Linked DNA regions of Homo sapiens: region 2 is linked to region 1. Evidence: promoter capture Hi-C in 16 types of primary human blood cells and fetal thymus (Javierre and others, 2016). All regions are on one chromosome and are shown on one strand. The core of a region is centred on a gene start or on the middle of the fragment in contact, and the rest is flanking DNA. Distances in the headings are between cores, read along the strand shown. Region 1 holds the start of SPATA3-AS1 (SPATA3 antisense RNA 1). Region 2 overlaps GCSIR (GPR55 cis regulatory suppressor of immune response RNA).

Region 1 (5,105 bases), core at 2,234-4,733:
TGGCAGATTCAATACACTTTCTGCTTAGACTTGCCCACGACACGTACTTTCCCGGAATGAGGAGAGGGGATTCTAAAGGCAAGACTTGTCTTTTTTTTTAATTACAAAAAAGTTTTTAAATTGAGATATCATTCCCAGGCAATAAAATTCACCCTTTTAGAGTGCTCAGTGGTTTTTAGTATATTCACAAAGTTTTGTGGCCATCACCACTAATTTCAGAACGTCTTCATTTCCCCAAAAAGAAACCCCATCTCCATGAGCAGTTACTCCCCACTCTCCCATTTCCCCCAGTCCCTGGCAATACATTTGCCTATTCTGAACATTTCATGTAAATAGAATCATTCGATGTGTGGGTTTCTGGGAGACTGGATTCTTTCACTTAGCCAAGTGTCTATAAGGTTCATCCAGGCTGTACCATGTATCAGGACACTATCTCTTTTTATTGCCAAATAGTATTTCACCATACTCATTGTACTGTGGTATTTCATACCACATTTTGTTTATCCATTCATCAGCTGATGGACATTTGGGTTGTTCCCACTTTTTGGCTATTACAAATGCTGCTGCTTTGAGCATTTGTGTACAAGTTTTGGTGTGCTTCTAATATGCTTAATAAGATGCTTCGAATTCTCTTGGATGTATACTGAGAAGTGGAATTGCTGGGTCATAAGGTAACTTCATGTTCCTCTGAGGAACCACCAGACTGTTTCCACAGCAGCTGCACCATTTTACATTCCCGCCTACAGTGTATGAGGATTCCAGCTTCTCTACATCCTCACCAACACTTGTTATTGTCCATCCTTCTGATTATACCCATCCTAGTGGAAGACTGGCATTTTCTTGAGCTACAATATTTCTGCACACAAAAAGGCTTGGATTTTAGAAAATGGCACGCTTTACTTGCAGGCCCTCATCCTTCATCTCCAACATTCCTTTCTACGCAGAGAATTCCTTTGGAAGAAGTATAGGGTGTCTGCTGTAACCACTGGCGAGCCACCACCATTTCTTGCTTTCTTGCTTTGCCTGTTCAATGGGCCAAATTCTTCTCTGAGTATGAGTCACATGTGTTCATTAAAAGACTTGGGAATGGAAAGTCTTGCTTTCTACCAGTACTGAAGATGCCAGTTCTGAAGATCATAACCCAGAAATGTTTCTCTCACTGGCTGATGATCACAATCTTTACAACATATAGTATGGTGCTCAAAATCAATATCATATGTCAAGAAAGGTTTGATTCCTGGCCATGGAAGGATCATTGGCATGGCATGCCTTATATTTAGCACTCTCATCTCCATCACTTATTTATTTTATGCCCACACAATCCCGGGGGGTAAACTGTGGCCCAGGGAGTGTGGCCTGTTCAAGGCTATGGAGTCGTGGGCACTGGCTCATGGCAGATCCAGGAGATGCTCGGACAGAGATGTTCTTCCTCTTGTGGAGACTCCTAGGCCTCTTGGAATGGAAAGGTCAGTGCTGTGGTTTAAAGTGAGGGTTCTGGAGTCAGAATAGAGTGGGTTTCCCTTCTCAGGGCTACCAGCGTCTGCTCAGGAGCAACCTGTTTGACTCCTATGAGCCTCAGTTTCCCCATCTATAAAATGGAGATAATATGGAAGAACTTTTATAGGATTATCACGTGTGAAAATTAAGACACCTGATCTGAATGCTAGGTACACAGTAAATGCTTAGTGATAATGTTAGTTTGCTATCACCATTATTGTTAGTAGTATAAACCAGCCCACCTCCTGAACTCCACTTGAATTCCCTCTACACAATCCAATGCTTATACAGACACTGTTTGGCTCCCAAGAAGACAGGGAACCACTTTTCCTGACAGCCATTCCATTTTCAGACAGAGCTAATTGTTGGGAAGTTTTTTATGTTGAGCCGAAGGCTTTCTGTCACTAATGTCTTCCATGGGTAAGATTGCTAATTTAGCAAATAAAAATATAGGATGCCCATGCAATACTGGGGACACACATACTAAAAATATTATTTGTTGTTTACTAAAATTAAAATTTAACTGAGAGTCTTGTATTTTGTCTGGCTATCCTATCCATGGGCCTGTATTTGTCTGTTTTCACACTGCTGATAAAGACATATCTGAGACTAGGCAATTTACAAAAGAAAGAGGTTTGTGGAACTTACAGTTCCACGTGGCTGGGGAGGCCTCACAATCATGGTGGAAGGTGAAAGGCACATCTCACATGGCGGCAGACAAGAGAAGAGAGTTTGTGCAGGGAAACTCCCTTTTTTAAAACCATTAGATCTCATGAAACTTATTCACTATCACGAGAACACCACGGAAAAGACCCTCCCCCGTGATTCAATCACTTCCCACTGGGTCCTTCCTACAACACCTGGGAATTCAAGAAGAGATTTGGGTGGGGACACAGCCAAACCACATCAGACCCTTAGATCTCTGAGGACAATAAGGAACAAGTCTATTCACATCTTCCACTTGACAGACAGACATCCTCCAATTCCTTCAATTGACTGTCATACACTAAATGGTCTCCCTGATCCTTCTCATCCTCCATCAACCCAGACTATCTTCCTTGGACTAGTTTGTCAGGCATCTTTTACAGCCCAAAAGGATAGCTTGATGAGGACAGAATAAAGCAGTATCATCACCTCCCTTATTCTAAACCATATACTTCTATAAATGCATCCTTGGTTTTTATTTTTTAGCAGTTGCATGGCACTGCTGATTCCTAGTGAGCAAGTATTACTATGGAACCAAGTTAAATGTTTATATGTATGTGTGGCTGTCTTCAGTGAGACTCAGGATGATGAGAAATGACAAAACCCAGGAATCCTGGTCTCTTGGGTAGAAACAAAAACAAAAACCTTCCCACTCTACAGCACAGCTCCAGGATACACGTTAACCATGCATCACTATCCTACAAGAACCAGCCTTTGGGATGACCCAGAACTCCATCAGCAGGAAGGCTGGAACTGCTGAAGCTAGAAGACAGCCCACCTGCTTTCCTGGATTGAGGGGCTGCCTTCACGTTAGCATCTGGAGATAAAAGGCAGCAAGAGGAGCGGCGGATTTCGGGTGCTGGAAGGGCTTGGAATGCTGGCTGCCGGGAGGTGGTTTCAAGGCTGGAATGCTGTGGTGTGGATTCAGGGCTAGGCTGCTGTGGTGTGGATTCAGGACTAGGCTGCTGTGGTGTGGATTCAGGGCTAGGCTGCTGAGAGGTGGAATTGGAGCTAGCATGCTGGGAGGTGGAGTCTCGGTGGCGTCTGGCCTCTGACCTTTTCTTCTTGACCTTCTTCATGGTAGATCCTCCCAACCTAAACGTGGACCTACATGGAGCTGCGTAATCTCCCGGCTCCCTCCTGGAGGGGCCGTTTGCCCTCTGCCCTAGGAGCCTGGCTTGGGCCTCCAGCTGGACCCAGGCCCCACAGAGAACAGTGACCCACACCTCCTGTGAGGTCATAAAAGCCAGGGTGGCTCCTATGGCAGGGCTTCAAGGGACAGTCTTCTCTGCAGACACCAGCCTGGTGTCCTCCTTCATCCCAGGCTGCCAGGCTAGGCAGGGGACAGCGGCTGCCCTGGTCCTCACAGCCCTGGCTACGGGGCTGGTGACAGCCAGATCCTCATGCTTCTGCGACCTGAGCGCTGCCTTCAGACACCTCTCTGCTGGCGTGTTCCTGGGTCCATGTGAGCTACCTGTTTTGCTCTAAGATACCCTGGATGTGACGCTCAGCTCTGTCACTGGCTTCCACATACCCCCTACTCCTACACCTCAAAAATCCATGTTCCCCACGCATTCATCTTCAGGTCAGCTTCCTGAAGATTTGGAGCTTCTTCGAAGGCTTTACCATGGCCCAGAGCCTGCTACCATCTCAGAGTAGCTTACCCCTTCCCCCAAAGCCTGCCCTCCCGCACTGTGGGAGGGGAGTTTGGGGGTTGACTTGACTTTTATAAGAACCTTTGCATTTGGCAGATAATTTTCCCTGAGAACATAACAGCTGTTCAGAAAACTAACATTTGTCTCAAACTCATGGCAATGGCAACCACAGACTATCTCCCAAACCCCAATTGGTTGGGTTAAACAGGTGACTGAATCTTTCTCTAGATTAATTAATTTAATGTGCTCATTAAATGTGATTTTTGTTTTAGGATGGAAGAAGGAAAAGTATTTTTAAAAGACAATCTGAAGCTCATACTGTGACTGCAACATAAAATGTGTTCACCTGAGGAGACTGCTTTCATCGCCAGTGTGTCACAGGTGGGTGAGTGTGGGACTGGCAAGCGCAGGAGCTCCTGCCCCAGCGGAAGGTTTAGAGCAGACCTATGCAGATAAAAAGGGCTTCGGTCACGCCTGTAATCCCAGCACTTTGGGAGGCTGAGGCGGGCAGATCACGAGGTCAGGAGATTGAGACCATCCTGGCTGACATGGTGAAACCCCGTCTCTACTAAAAATACAAAAAATTAGCCGGGCGTGGTGGTGGGTGCCTGTAGTCCCAGCTACTCGGCAGGAGAATGGCGTGAACCTTGGAGGTGGAGCTTTCAGTGAGCCGAGATCGTGCCACTGCACTCCAGCCTGGGCGACAGAGCGAGACTCTGTCTTAAAAAAAAATGGGGGGCTTTGGGCCACACAAAGCCAGACCCAACATGAACTCTGAAATGACAGGACATAGTTTAGGGCTTCTAGAGCCTAAAAATACCTTAATGATGACCTTTCCTCAGAACACTGAGGTTTAGCGAAATTAAGTTACTTTCCCAGGGTCACACAGCTGGCTGGGGGCATCGGAAGGACTAAATTCCAGTTTGGGGCTCATTATTTTCATGATCCCAGAAAACAATAGGGAGTCAGATAATTATACAGGCTTTGAAATAATGAATTAAAAAGTCCCCCAGTGGCCTGGTGCGGTGGCTCACGCCTATAATCCCAGCACTTTGGGAGGCTGAGGCGGGCAGATCATGAGGTCAAGAGATTGAGACCATCCTGGCCAACCAACATGGTGAAAACCTGTCTCTACTAAAAATACAAAAATTAGCTGGGCATGGTGGTGCACGCCTGTAGTCCCAGGTACTCAGGAGGCTGAGGCAGGAGAATCACTTGAACCTGTGAGGCGGAGGTTGTGGTGAGCCG
Region 2 (4,750 bases), core at 1,931-4,430, 98 kb after region 1:
TCCAGCTTGCAGCCATCTCTCTCCTCCTGCTCTTCATCACCTGCTCTTAGGGGTCAGTTGCCTCTGGTATAACTTCTTGGCCAGGGTTGTTCCTCCAAGGACTATATACATTGAAACTGGGAGCAAAGCTGTAGTTCAAACCAAGAGAGAAACGCTTTTATAAATACTGTATCTCCAGTGACTCTGAAATTGCGGCAAACAGGCTGCACAGGTGGGGTCCAGCACCGACTTCCCAAGGCTGCACTGCATCTGAAACCAACCAAACCAGGTGAGGGGGTGGCATAAGGGAAGGAGCACTCCCTTGGCAGGATGGGGCTGGGGGGTGTTTCTGGTTGCTGTGCATTACCATCCATCTCCGTCACCCCTGGCCTTCAGGGAAGTCTCCCACCAGTTCTCCCTGGAGTCAGCTGTCCTTTATTGGAGAAAGAAAGGGGGAATGTGCTCCCTGTGGGCTCAGATACACGTGGAGGACAGTTCCTGTAGGACTCAGGGCTCAGAGGAGAATTTGGCAGTTTCTACGACTATGATGGGAGATGCTAGGGTTCCCACTGAATGTGGGATAAAATCACAAGCCCTTCTGCTTGGAGATTTAAAAAGGGGGGGTGACCCCATAAAGCTGGAGGAGTTGGGGCTAGAAACAGGTCTGTAACAAGACCTTGGCTTGAAGGGAACTATTGTGCAGACGTGGAAGCTGAGGCCCATGGGGGCATGAGCAGCACCAGCTCTCTGATGCCCTTGTAAGTGATTTTTGCATGGCACCCCATGCTAACACCCACTCTGGGTCTCTGTGTCCTGGCCCACCGTACCCACTCCAAAATCCTCTCAGGGCTCTTCAAAGATCCTGAGCCATCAAGGGGCGACCCATCTGCTCCCCAGTAGGGGCTGTCACAAGCCCACCCACTGGCTTCCACTACTCAATTGCACCTGGTCGAGAACAGGCTTATTCTCTCCTTGTCTGTTACACCTCATTTGGTCCTCCCTTGCACCGGTGTCCTAAGTAGAAATGCTCCTTCTTAATCACCTCTCACAGCAAGGTCTCGTGGCTCCCGTCCACCCTGTGTGCCTGGCACAGGCTGGGTGCAGAGCAGAGCTGATAAATACCTGGTGATTGACAGCTGCAGTCATCACCACTGCCCCAGCCCTCGCTTCAGACCAGGAAGCAACCGCAGGCTCAAAGACCCTGGGTCCTGGCCCCATAGCACCAGCTAATAATAACAGACAGCTAGGGGCTTGCTCCAAGCCCCTTATACCTGGCTGTGTGCAGAAGCCCTCTGGTAGGATTGATGATAATGCCGGGGTTCCTGGTGTGCCCCAATCACCAGTTAAGAAGATTCTCATATTTCTCTTAAGGTTCAACTAACAACTTTAAGTCCCTCAATATTATGAGAAGGGGCACTTGCAACTTAGATACAATTTCCAGTGATAGCATCATGTGGGGATTTAAAAAGTGCTGAATCTCTGTAACTGAGAGGAGACGGAGGTGACGTACCCTGAAAGTCACCGGTGACTCAAACCGTGGCTCAGGGGTGATGAGGAGACAGACACTCAAGATGCTGGTGACAGGTTGAGATGAAAAAATGTTCCATGAAATGTGAAAGTGGAAAGGAGTTACCTTCTGTGGAATTAAAAGATGTCTTGAAAACCAAATGCATTAACTCCTACAGGAGACATTTAAACAATTACATGCACAACCCTAATAGTTTGTATATTCAAGCTGGATCTTCTCACTTGGAAAAACAATCTCTTCTGTATGCGCATCTTCTTAATGGCCCACTGGGAAATGCCGTATACTCAGGGGTGCCCTGGGTTTGGGCATAGATGATGTACACCCCTAGTTCCTGGTGAAACCCAGGTCTGGGTGAATGGAGCAAATCCAGATCCTTCTAATGGGATAGGGAAGCAGACTGGCTCCTGTTCCCTGTCACTGAGTGATCCAAAGGACCAAGGCCAGGGACCCTTGCACCAAACCGTGCTGTCAGATTCTGTCTGCCAGCGGGGGAGCCCAGGGAAGCCCAGGGCCGCTGCAGTCACCTCCAGGCAGTGCACGTTGCTCAGCAACCTCTTTGCAACTGTGAGCTGCTCCACATCCCTGCGAAGAGCCTTCTTTTGCTTGAATTAGCTGGAGCTGGTTTCTCTTGCAGGGAACAAAGAAGCTTCCTGTTAGCAAAATGAAGTTTCCTGCTTCAGCAAGAGAAAGGCTCCTTATGGGGAGATGGGAGAGGGGAGTGGGAAGACAGAGGCCCTGGGTATGGGTGCTTGGAGATTCTCTCTTTCCTGGGGGTGAAGGGGAAAGGGAGAGGGAGATTGTATGGCCAGACCTCTTCCACAGCCTTAAAACAGGGATGTAAGCCCTTTTGACAATTTCACTTGAATTCCTTGGGAAATACCAGGTTAGGGTGTTTTCTTGGATGAAAACTCGGGTGGTGCAGGCAGCAAAGCCCATCATCGACGGCCCCAGGGAGCCACGTGCAGATTCTTCCCTTTCCTGCAGTGTGCCCTGGCCTGCAAGGCCCTGTCTAAGGACGCTGGGGTGGACTGAGGCTGCCACAGGAGGGCATGGAGGGTATGGAGGAAAAGGAAAGCTGCTTGATTCATCGGCATCTGACAAAGTGTTCTGTCTACACCATGCCTGCTGCACGAGGCACCTGGTCAGATGTTGGCCCTTGCTGCCCACTAAAGGTCAAAGAGGTGATGGGGATCCCCCTTCCCCACATCATCCCAGGAATTCTCTGACTGTCCTTGGGTCTCTCTGGGAAGACTTCTCGGAGCCCCTGGCCCCAGCTGGGGGTCCCTCCTCTGTGATCCCATGGCACCCTAACTTTCCACAAGGAACTGGGGTGAGTGAGGGTCTCTTGAGTGCAGGGAGCTCATTCAGGTTTATTATGGAAGCTGGGTGACAGTGATGGTTGCATGGTTGCACAACTTTATAAATTTTCTAAAAATTACTGAATTGTTAAACAAGAAAGAAGGAAGCAAAAGCTGTTTTGTTGAAGGATGTACATGGAAATAAAGAAGACAGGACTCTCAGCTCCGTGCAAGCCTGCCCGGGTCCCAGGACAGGCTCACAGCAAGACCTCCCGGGAGGTCCCCATGGGGCCTGGAACACGGCTCAGGTTTGGAAGGGCTTGAGGGTCCAGGGAAGTCTATTGGCTCTGCTCTATCCTTCCTGCCTTTCGGTCTCTGTCTCCTACCACCGTTGTCCCAGCTGGCGGCCACTATCTCTGCTGGCCTCTCCACCCGTGTCCATCACTGGCAGCCTGAGGATGGGCTACCTGTGAATCACGTGCTCCTCCCTGGTCCAGTCAACCACGGCGGAGGAGATGGGGCCATGTGAGATGCCGCCTATGGGGCCGCCTGGAGCTGCTACCTTCAGCAGGGGCCTGGCAGGTGCTCTGAGGCTTTGTGTGTTTTTCTCCACCTCTGTGCCAGGAGGCTGCTGCCCTTCAAGTCTTGTGGGGACACAGTCATGTCCATTCACACTGTCTGCAGTGGCTGCTTTGGAGCTACAGCAGACCACGGTAGTTATGACAGAGACTGTATGGTTTGTAAAACTGAAAACACTTGTAATCTAGCCCTTTGCAAAAAATTTCCCTAATGCCTGCTCTGAACTATAAACTCTTCAGGGAAGGGACTAGGTCTTGTTCATCTCTGGATCTTCAGAACTTAGCAGAGTGTCAGACACATAGTAGAAGCTCAATAAATTGTAGGAGCTCAATTAAATAGATAAATAGATGGAGTCTGGGCTGAATCTGTGCAGTCTATGTCCTTTACTTTAAAAAGAGGCTTCCCGGCCGGGTGCAGTGACTCACACCTGTAAGCACTTTGGGAGGCCAAGGTGGTAGGATCGCGTGAGCTCAGGAGTTTGAGACCAGCCTGGGCAATGTAGTGAGACCTTGTCTCTATTAAAAATAATAATAATAATAATAATAACTGGGTGTGGTGGTGTGCTTGTCATCCCAGCTACTTGGGGGGCTGAGGTGGGAGGATTGCATGAGCTCGGGAGGTTGAGGCTGCAATGAGCTGTGATCCTGCCACTGGACCCCAACCTGGGTGACAGAGCGAGACCCTGTCTCAGAAGGGAAATAAATAAAAGGGGGCTTCTCCTAGACAACACTCTCCTCCTGCTCCTGCTCATTGAACAAGGTGACCAAATGTCCCAGTCTGTCCAGGACTGAGGGAGACCAAGGCTACTCAGTGTTAAAGCTTGGAAAGTTCCAGGCAAACTGGGATAATGTGGTTCCTTATATTGGATACCTGGCCTCTCTATATGTTGAAGCAGCTGCCTACCTCATTTGGGCAATGAATCCACTGTAGTTAGCCAGGTAGAACCATGTGTGCCTAGTAGAAATAGGAATACACATAATCAGCTGCATAACAGATTCAAACAACATAACAGTGTAAAGGAGCAAGGCAGTACCTGGTGGTAGCAGTTGTGCTGAGGATTCTGGGTGTTACCAGTGAAGCGGGTAAGATCTCGTGGGGCTGGGATGATGGAGAAAGGCTTTCTGGGAAGCTGGAGTCCACTCAAGTCTTGATTGGATGAGACAGAATCATCTCTGGCAGAGAAGGAAGGCAGCGACCTTACTGGTGCACGAGGTCCCTGGTGTCCACGTATCAGTCCCCAGGGAAAATTCGGATTGGTCACATGTCATCTCCTGAGCCAAGTTCTGTGGCCAGAGAAATAAGGCGCCGACTGGCCAGTCAGGATCACACGCCCATCTCAGAGGCATGTTGGGTGCTGACTGTGGTA

Evidence for each region. Contacts are between HindIII fragments. The CHiCAGO score rates a contact against its expected background, and 5 or more counts as called.
Region 2: a contact is called between a fragment that was not itself captured here and the fragment with the promoter of SPATA3-AS1 in region 1, in 14 of 17 cell types (M2 macrophages, M0 macrophages, M1 macrophages and 11 more). The highest score is 21.5, in M2 macrophages.

Annotation. Positions count from the first base shown.
Region 1 is chr2:230,994,410-230,999,514 of GRCh38, reverse strand. SPATA3-AS1 (SPATA3 antisense RNA 1) reads left to right here and starts at 3,483. Exons shown (of 6, transcript NR_033879.1): 1 at 3,483-3,667; 2 at 4,130-4,238. SPATA3 (spermatogenesis associated 3) reads right to left here and starts at 3,394. Exons shown (of 5, transcript NM_139073.5): 1 at 2,981-3,394. The coding sequence starts at 3,281. RefSeq lists an enhancer at 3,350-3,883. The HindIII fragment of the contact is 18,304 bases long and covers 1-5,105 here.
Region 2 is chr2:230,896,758-230,901,507 of GRCh38, reverse strand. It overlaps GCSIR (GPR55 cis regulatory suppressor of immune response RNA), which reads right to left. Exons shown (of 4, transcript NR_038238.1): 3 at 4,418-4,750. Among named protein-coding and RNA genes, the nearest start is that of GCSIR, 13 kb to the right of the region's middle. The HindIII fragment of the contact is 2,050 bases long and covers 2,156-4,205 here.